Linked DNA regions of Homo sapiens: region 1 is linked to region 2. The links are contacts of gene promoters, found by promoter capture Hi-C in human tissues and cell types (Jung and others, 2019). All regions are on one chromosome and are shown on one strand. The core of a region is centred on a gene start or on the middle of the fragment in contact, and the rest is flanking DNA. Distances in the headings are between cores, read along the strand shown.

Region 1 (3,588 bases), core at 664-3,163, 300 kb before region 2:
GGGAACAGTGGATGCAAAAGCCCTAACTTTGTGTTTCGAGGAAGAGTTATTTGGTCAGATCCTATAAAGAGTTCAGTCCCACAAGATGGCCCCAACTTCAGACATCAATCACAAGTCTCAGGTTGTGACCTATGCTTCTGACCAACCAGCTATAAATTAGGGTTTCCAGGCCGGGCGTGGTGGCTCATGCCTGTAATCCCAGCATTTTGGAAGGCCAAGGCAGGTGAATCGCCTGAGGTCAGGACTTTAAGACCAGCCTGGCCAGCATGGCAAAACCCCACCTCTACTAAAAATAGGAAAAATAGCTGGGCGTGGTGGTGCACACCTGTAATCCCAGCTATTTGGGAGGCTGAGGCAAGAGAATCGCTTGAACCTGGGAGGCGAAAGTTGCAGTGAGTCAAGACTGCCCCACTGCACCTGGACCATGGAGAGAGACTCCCTCTCAACAAATAAATTGGGGTTTTCATAACCCCCCATCTTGAGTTCCATAATTTGCTAGAATGGCTCACAGAACTCAAAAAAACACTTTATGTTTACCAGATTATTATATTGAGCACCTATTAGTACCTAACAGTACCTGCCAGGCACTGTTATCAGTATTGGGGATACAGCAGTGAATAAAACAAAATTTGGGGGACAAGAGGCAAACAAGGCCATAACTGAAGCAAAGTAAGTTAGGGGAAGAGTGGAATAAGAGATGGCAGAGCAGTGGGGCCTCGGCATGGAACCAACCAATGCTGGGACCAAGGACTGAAATAAGAGATAATAGAGAATCTATGCTCAACATGTTAAGTTTGAGGTGACTATTAGGCATCCAGGTAGACGTGTCAAATAAATAGATAAACTGTAAAAGTCTGAAGTTCAAAACTAAGGTAAATTTGGTAGTTATGTTGTAAATATAAAGATAGCATTTAATGTCATGATGCTATTGTTTGAATGTGTCCCCCAAAGCTCATGTGTTGGAAACTTATTCCCCAAAGCAATAGTGTTGAGAGGGGGGACTCTTAAGGGGTGATTAGGTTATGAGGGCAGAGCTCTTAATGCTATTATCACAGGAGTGGGTTAGTTATTGGGGAGTGGGTTCCCGATAAAAGGGATGAGTTCAGCTCCCTTTCTCTTTTGCCTACCACCGTGAAATGACACAGCAGGAAGCTCCCCACCAGATGCAGGCCCCTGGACCTAGGATTTCCCAGCCTCCAGAACCATAAGAAATAAATCTCTATACTTTATAAATTTCCCAGTCTCAGGTATTCTGTTATAGCAACACAAAATGAACTAAGACATGTGGGAAGAGACACAGTAACATGAGAGAATTGAGATACCACAAAAAAGGAGGCCCAGGCTATGGAAACACTAACATTTGAACCTCAAGCAGAAGATTCTAGAAAGAATCTGAGAAGTAACCTCTGGTGAAGAAGGAGGAAGAACTAGGACAATAGGATATGGTAATTGAGAGAAAGAAAGAATGGTCAACAGTGTCCACTGTTGCTGAAAGCTTGAAGCAAAATTTGGTCTCTGAATTTTGCAATGTAGAAATCACTAATTACCTTAACAAGAGAATGTTTGTTATTTTAGATTCCCACCATGTACCATGTACAGTTCTGGACAGTCATGAACAAAAGATGAAAGGTTGTTATAATAAACATTCTAGTGGGAGAGGTAGCCAACAAATCATGTCATTTCAAATAAATAAGTGCTTTGGGCCAGGCACGGTGGCTCACACCTGTAATCTCAGCACTCTGGGAAGCCGAGGCTCAGGATCACTTGAGACCAGGAGTTTGAGGCCAATCTGGGCAACATAGTAAGACCCCATCTCCACAAAAAATTGTTTTTAAAAAATTAGCCAGATGTGGCCAGGCACAGTGGCTCACGCCTGTAATCCCAGCACTTTGGGAGGCCGAGGTAGGCAGATCATGAAGTCAGGAGATCGAGACCATCTTGGCTAACACAGTGAAACCCCGTCTCTACTAAAAATACAAAAAATTAGCTGGGCATGGTGGCGGGTGCCTAAGTCCCAGCTACTCAGGAGGCTGAGGCAGGAGAATGGTGTGAACCCGAGAGGCGGAGCTTGCAGTGAGCCAAGATCGCACCACTGCACTCCAGCCTGGGCGAAAGAGTGAGACTCCGTCTCAAAAAAAAAAAAAAAATAGCCAGATGTGGTGGCATGTGCCTGTAGTCCCAGCCACTCAAGAGGCTGAGGTGGGAGGATCACTTGAGCCCTGGAGGTTGAGGCTGCAGCAAGCCATGACTGCATCACTGCACTCCAGCCTGGGCAACAGAGCAAGACTCTATCTCAAATAATAATAAGTACCTTGAAGAAGAAAACAGAGCAATATGACAGGTAGTGCCATAACAAGTAGGATGGCCCAGAAAAGATTCTCTGAGAAATTACCATTTGAGCTGAGAGCTAAATGATGAGGCTGTAAAAGGAAAAAACAAACTGTTTTCTCCTTTCTACTGGCACAAAACACAGAGCAGTTCTGTGACCAGAAGAGGGGCTGGGGGAGTATTTCCCTACACACCAACCAACTCTAAAGGACATCAACACGATGTCCTATAACTCAATTCAAGTTAAGGGCCCAGTCTCCCACAAGACTGCCCCAATTCAGACGTCAGTCCAGGAAAATATTTTATGTTTACCAGTTTATTGTAAAGGATTTATAAAGGATACAGATGAACAGCCAGATGAAGAGATGGATAGGGCAAAGATAAGAAGGCCATGGGGCTTCCATGCCCTCGCTGGGCACTCCACCCTCCCAGCACCTCCCTGTATTCAGCAACCTAGAAGCTCATGAAATCTTGTTGTCTAAGAGTTTGTATAGAGCTTAATCTCCAGCCACCCGCCCCCGATCTCTCCTGTTGGTTGGTGGGTGGGCTGAAATTTCCAACCCTCTAACACTCTAATCACATGGTCTTTCTGGTGACTGACTTTTTGGTGTCTGTAAACAATACAGTATAACAACTATTTACATAGTATTTACATTGTTATTAGGTATTATAAATAATTTAGAGATTATTTAAAGTATACAGGAGGGGCTGGGTGCGGTGGCTAACACCTGTAATCCCAGCACTTTTGGAGGCCCGAGGTGGGTGTATCACTTGAGCCCAGGAGTTCGAGACCAGCCTGGGCAACGTAAGAAGACCTTGTCTCTACAAAAAAAAAAAAAAAAAAAAATTAGCCAGGCATAGTGGTGCATGCCCGTGGTCCCAGCTACTCGGGAGGCTGAGGCAGGAGGATAGCTTGAGCCTGGGAGGCAGAGGTTACAATGAGCCGAAATCACACCACTGCACTCCAGCCTGGGTGACAAGAGTGAGACCCTGACCCAAAAAAAGATTTTTTTTCCTCTGAGCTTTCTCTGAATCAACCTGTAAGAGTTAGTAATTCTCAGTTTACAAAATTGTGAAGAGGATTAAATGAGATGAATGCTAAAGCACCAGGCAAATAGCACCTGCTGAAAAAGTAAGAATTCCCTTCCTCTCATCCACATTCTCATCTCCACCATTTAACTTTGGAGAATGGAAAACCATCCATATAAGAAGTATTGAAACTGAAAGGTAACACTAATTAGCTATTACATAACAATAGAG
Region 2 (4,109 bases), core at 165-2,664:
CCGGTGCAAGACAGGAGCAGCAGGCTGGGATGGAGAATTCCTGGGAGGAAGAAGTGGGGCAGAACCCACTGATATATGGAGTTCCACATTTATACCTTTGTAGCAGTCAAATCTAAGAGTTTAACACGGTGGCTCCACGTTGTAATCCCATCAGTTTGGGAGGCCAAAAGCAGGAGGATCACTTGAGGCCAGGAGCTCGAGCTCAGCCTGAGCAACAAAGTGAGACCCTCATTTTTCTAAAAAAAAAAAAAACCAAAAAACCATAAGCTTAAATGATCGAGTATTGGAAACGCTTTCTAAGGCCCTGGAAAAATAGAAGTTTTCTTAATAATAATGTTAGCTTCCATGTATTGTAAACCTAAACGAAGCAAGAATAAATGCTGGGTGCTGTATATAGCTCTATCAACCTATAATCACCTCGAAAACTCGAGGAGACACATTCAGCTGCTCCCATTTCACGGATGAGGAAACAAGTACGCAATCCTGAAGCTGGTGCAAAGCCCAGGCCCCCTTTCTTTTTCAAGCGTGCTTCCAGCCTCTGAAGTTCCTCCGTACGGACCCCCAGCTCTGCCTGCAATAAGGAATATTCACTTTGCCAACAAATATTTATTGAGTGCCTGCTATATACCCCTTAGCCCGTTTAAATAGCCGTGGGATTAAAAAGATAAATAGGGCAGGATTTTTTTTTTTCTTCCAGGAAGGAGCTTTCTGAAGGGTGAGGGAGAGGCCAGGTAAACAATCCCAGAACAGTCTGGTGAGAGTTGGGAGAGGAGTCGGGGGGCCGCGGGACGCTCAGGAAGCGAAGCGGGGAAGGCTCCGGGCGCGTCGCAGGACCCGCGCTGGAGATGGGTTTGAAGCCCTGTCCTGAAAAAGCCGGCCCGGAGTGGGCTGTCCCCGGTGTCCCTCGAGTTCTCATGCTGTCATTCAAGCAGCAGAGGAAGAACCGGGTCTGGCTCGGGAAGGGTGGGCTTAGGGCCAGGGGTGCAAATCCCTCGGTAAAAGCCGGCAAACTAAAAGTCGCACACATCCCAGGTCCCGGTCCAGGCCCCGGCGGGGCAGGGTCCCCGAAGTCCCGGGGCGCGCAGACGCCGGGGCCCCCGGGGGCCAAGGGAACGGCGGGACCCGACCTCCCTGCCCTCGGCCTCCCGGGCCCTCGCCCTCCGACCAGCCGCTGAGTCGGGGGCTGGGGTCGCCGCTTCCGCCCGCGGCCCGCTGCCCCTCCCCGGCGCGCGCCATCCGGCCGCCGGCCCCTCCTCCCGCGGGGGGCTCCGTCCCGCGCCCCGTCCCTCCGGGCTGCAGCCGGCAGCCCACGTCCAGGGAGGGCGGAGGGAGGAGGAGAGGCGCGGAGAGGAGGGAGGGGAGAGGGGAGGGAGGAAGGCGAGAGAAAGGGAGCTGCTTCCATCCCGGACTTCCCAGAGCCTGCCTGGAGCGCGTACTCAGCGGCTCTCGGGTCCCAGCGTCCCAGCCGCGGCCCGCGCTCCTCCGCCCCGCTCCTCCTCCTCCTCTTCCTCCTCCTCCTCCTCTCTAGGCACCCCCGTCCCCTCCTTCCAGCGGCTGCAGCCCCCAGCCCCAACTCTCCGCGCTTACTCCTGGGACGCGCGTCCTCGCCCCATCCTTTGCTTCCTTCCTTCCTTCCTTCTTCCTTCCTCCCCTGGCTCCCGCCCTCCCTCTCCAGGTCGCCCTCCCGGGGCCCGATTGTCTCGGTGCCCCGCTCCCGGCCCGCGCCCTGCCCCGTCTCTCCCTTGCACTTCCTGAGTCGCCCGCCGCCGCCGTCGCAGACTCGCCGCGGGAGCCCCAGCCCAACCCGAGCCCGACAGCCACTGCCCCGGCTCCAGCTCCAGCCCCACAGCCCGCGGCGCCCGCCCGAGGGAGCCCCGGCGCCCGGGGAAGGCTCCAGTGGGCTAGCGCGCCCTCGCCCAGCCCCGCGCCCCAGCCCTGCCCGGCCCGGCGAGGAAGGACCGGGAAGATGAACAACGGCGGCAAAGCCGAGAAGGAGAACACCCCGAGCGAGGCCAACCTTCAGGAGGAGGAGGTACTGGGCGGCTCGGTGTGGTGGCGGGGGCGACGCGGGACCCAGTGCGGGCGGCCGGCGGGGCGCGGGCCCGGGGCGCGGCGGTGGAAGAAGGTTCAGGCATGGCCCGTGCCCCGGACGCAGCCCCACAGTGTGGCCCGGGGAGGGTGGATCTCGGGAGCGTGTGTTTTTGTGTCCACGCGCGTCTGCGGGCCCCAAATTGCGTAACTCCAAGGACTTTTCGGAGACTTTTGTAAGTATAATGCTCAGCTTTGTTTGCCCGGGATTTATAAGTGGAACCGAGAGCTGACTCCTGGGTGACCTCAGATAATCGGGACTCGGAGGGTCAGGACTTAGGGCCGGGGCTGGAAATTGTGTATGGATTCAGGGTCGGGGGGGGAGCAGTTTAAGGAAGAAACTCGGGGGAAAGTTCTCGTTAAAAGATACCTCTATTCCCTGCCCCCTCCCTTTCCGTGTTAAAAGTTCTTGGTGAAATATCTTTCTAGCCGAGGTTTTTTGGATTAATAGATAACTCATCAGCCACATTCTTCTCTGCTGAGTCAAAGACCCCGAGCCTGGGCGGTGAACGCTTGTGATTTTAGGGGCCGTGCAGCTGAGGGGAGCAGAGTAAGAGGGTTAAAAACGCAGCAATTCACCAAATGCTCATCGAGGGTATTTTCATAGGACTTTGACTTCTGAGCATGCATTTTAGGTGGTGCGTCCGTAATCATGATGAAAGTTTTGTGACTGCGGAGCGTTCCTTCGGTGGAAACAAAATTGAGTAGATGTGGTCAGAAGGGGAGTCGGACTCAGGAACAAACGTTTCAGAATTCAGTAGGATATTTGTGGTATCCTACCAAATGACTCTTTTTGCAGGTACGTTATCTGGAGTCCAAGAAATTATTTCTGGCGTACTTCTTAACATCCCACACAGTTGAGTTCTTAAACATTCTAGAGGAACTTGAGAGTGTGTGTAGATGCAGGAAAGTGCACGTCTAAATATGACCCGAAAAGATTCACACAGGTATTGGATCCTGATATAGGTGAACACAGAAGGTAAACGGATTCTAAAGCGTTAGAATGTTGAGATCATTGTTGAGACACTATGTTGTGTGCAAACTTCAATTCTGATAGTGAAACCAAAATTGCAGAGGAATTCATTAATACATACAACTTCTCTGCACATTGTCCACTTGGAAAATGGTAACTATTTAGATGGAGAAGGTAGAGGAGCGAGACTATGCCAAACAATGCAAAATAAATAGGAGATTTTACTCGTCACCCAGTTGTATGGTAGTGAAAACCTAAATGAATTGCAGTCAGCCAAAAATTGCTTTTTCACCCGAGGACATTTTCTATTTTATTATAAAAGACTATTTGAAGAGTTGTTTACTTGCATGTTTTCTAATTACAATTGTAGGAATGCTACTGGCATTTCTTTTTTCAAAGCGATGGAGAGTTGAATGGTGTGTTCTGATTTTTTTTCTTGAACTTTACTGGCTGCTTTGCTATTTATTTTCCCTACCACTTAAAAAAATTTAAAAATAATGACAAGTGTGCTTTTTTAGGAATTACCATATTTAACTAATTCACTTACCATATCAAGATAATCATCGCTTCAGAAATCTTTCTGTTTCAGCTAGATGTGCAATCTGTTTGCTTCTCAGGGTTAGAATATTATATGAAACCATCTTTCTTTATTCACCCAGTTGAGAAAACTTTTTTTTTTCCTTTTGGTAGGTAGCAAAAGAGGTTCAATGTCCTAAAAATCATACCCACATTAAAATTAAGTATAGAAAAGTCACATTTTTCTGCTTGACCCCTCTTAACAGCTGCCAGGACCAAGGGATTGCCTGCCCTGTTCCTGGACGCTCCTCCGTCCTTGTGAGGTTGTGTATAATAATCGCTGTATAATCGCGGGCCATTGCAGTACAGTTGCTGCCTCTTACTTGTCCTGTTATCTGACAGCGTTCCTTTTCAGGTAGGAATGGCATGTGGCTCTAGAAAGTATCGGTCTTTTTAGCAAAACACTTGTTATGTAAAAAGTAAGGGGACACGTAGGAAGATTTCAGAACCCAAGTTGTCCAAGAGAGATGTC

The links. Contacts are between HindIII fragments. The study calls those that stand out against the background at their distance.
Region 1: a fragment that was not itself captured here is called in contact with the fragment with the promoter of RBPMS in region 2 in 1 of the 25 tissues and cell types used here (heart right ventricle).

Annotation. Positions count from the first base shown.
Region 1 is chr8:30,084,085-30,087,672 of GRCh38, forward strand. No RefSeq gene overlaps it. Among named protein-coding and RNA genes, the nearest start is that of SARAF, 2.8 kb to the left of the region's middle. The HindIII fragment of the contact is 4,614 bases long and covers 1-3,588 here.
Region 2 is chr8:30,383,127-30,387,235 of GRCh38, forward strand. It overlaps RBPMS (RNA binding protein, mRNA processing factor), which reads left to right and starts at 1,415. Exons shown (of 9, transcript NM_001008710.3): 1 at 1,415-2,032. The coding sequence starts at 1,967. RBPMS-AS1 (RBPMS antisense RNA 1) reads right to left here and starts at 2,275. Exons shown (of 3, transcript NR_046205.1): 1 at 2,018-2,275; 2 at 418-571. RefSeq lists enhancers at 1,202-1,872, 1,873-2,544. The HindIII fragment of the contact is 17,890 bases long and covers 1-4,109 here.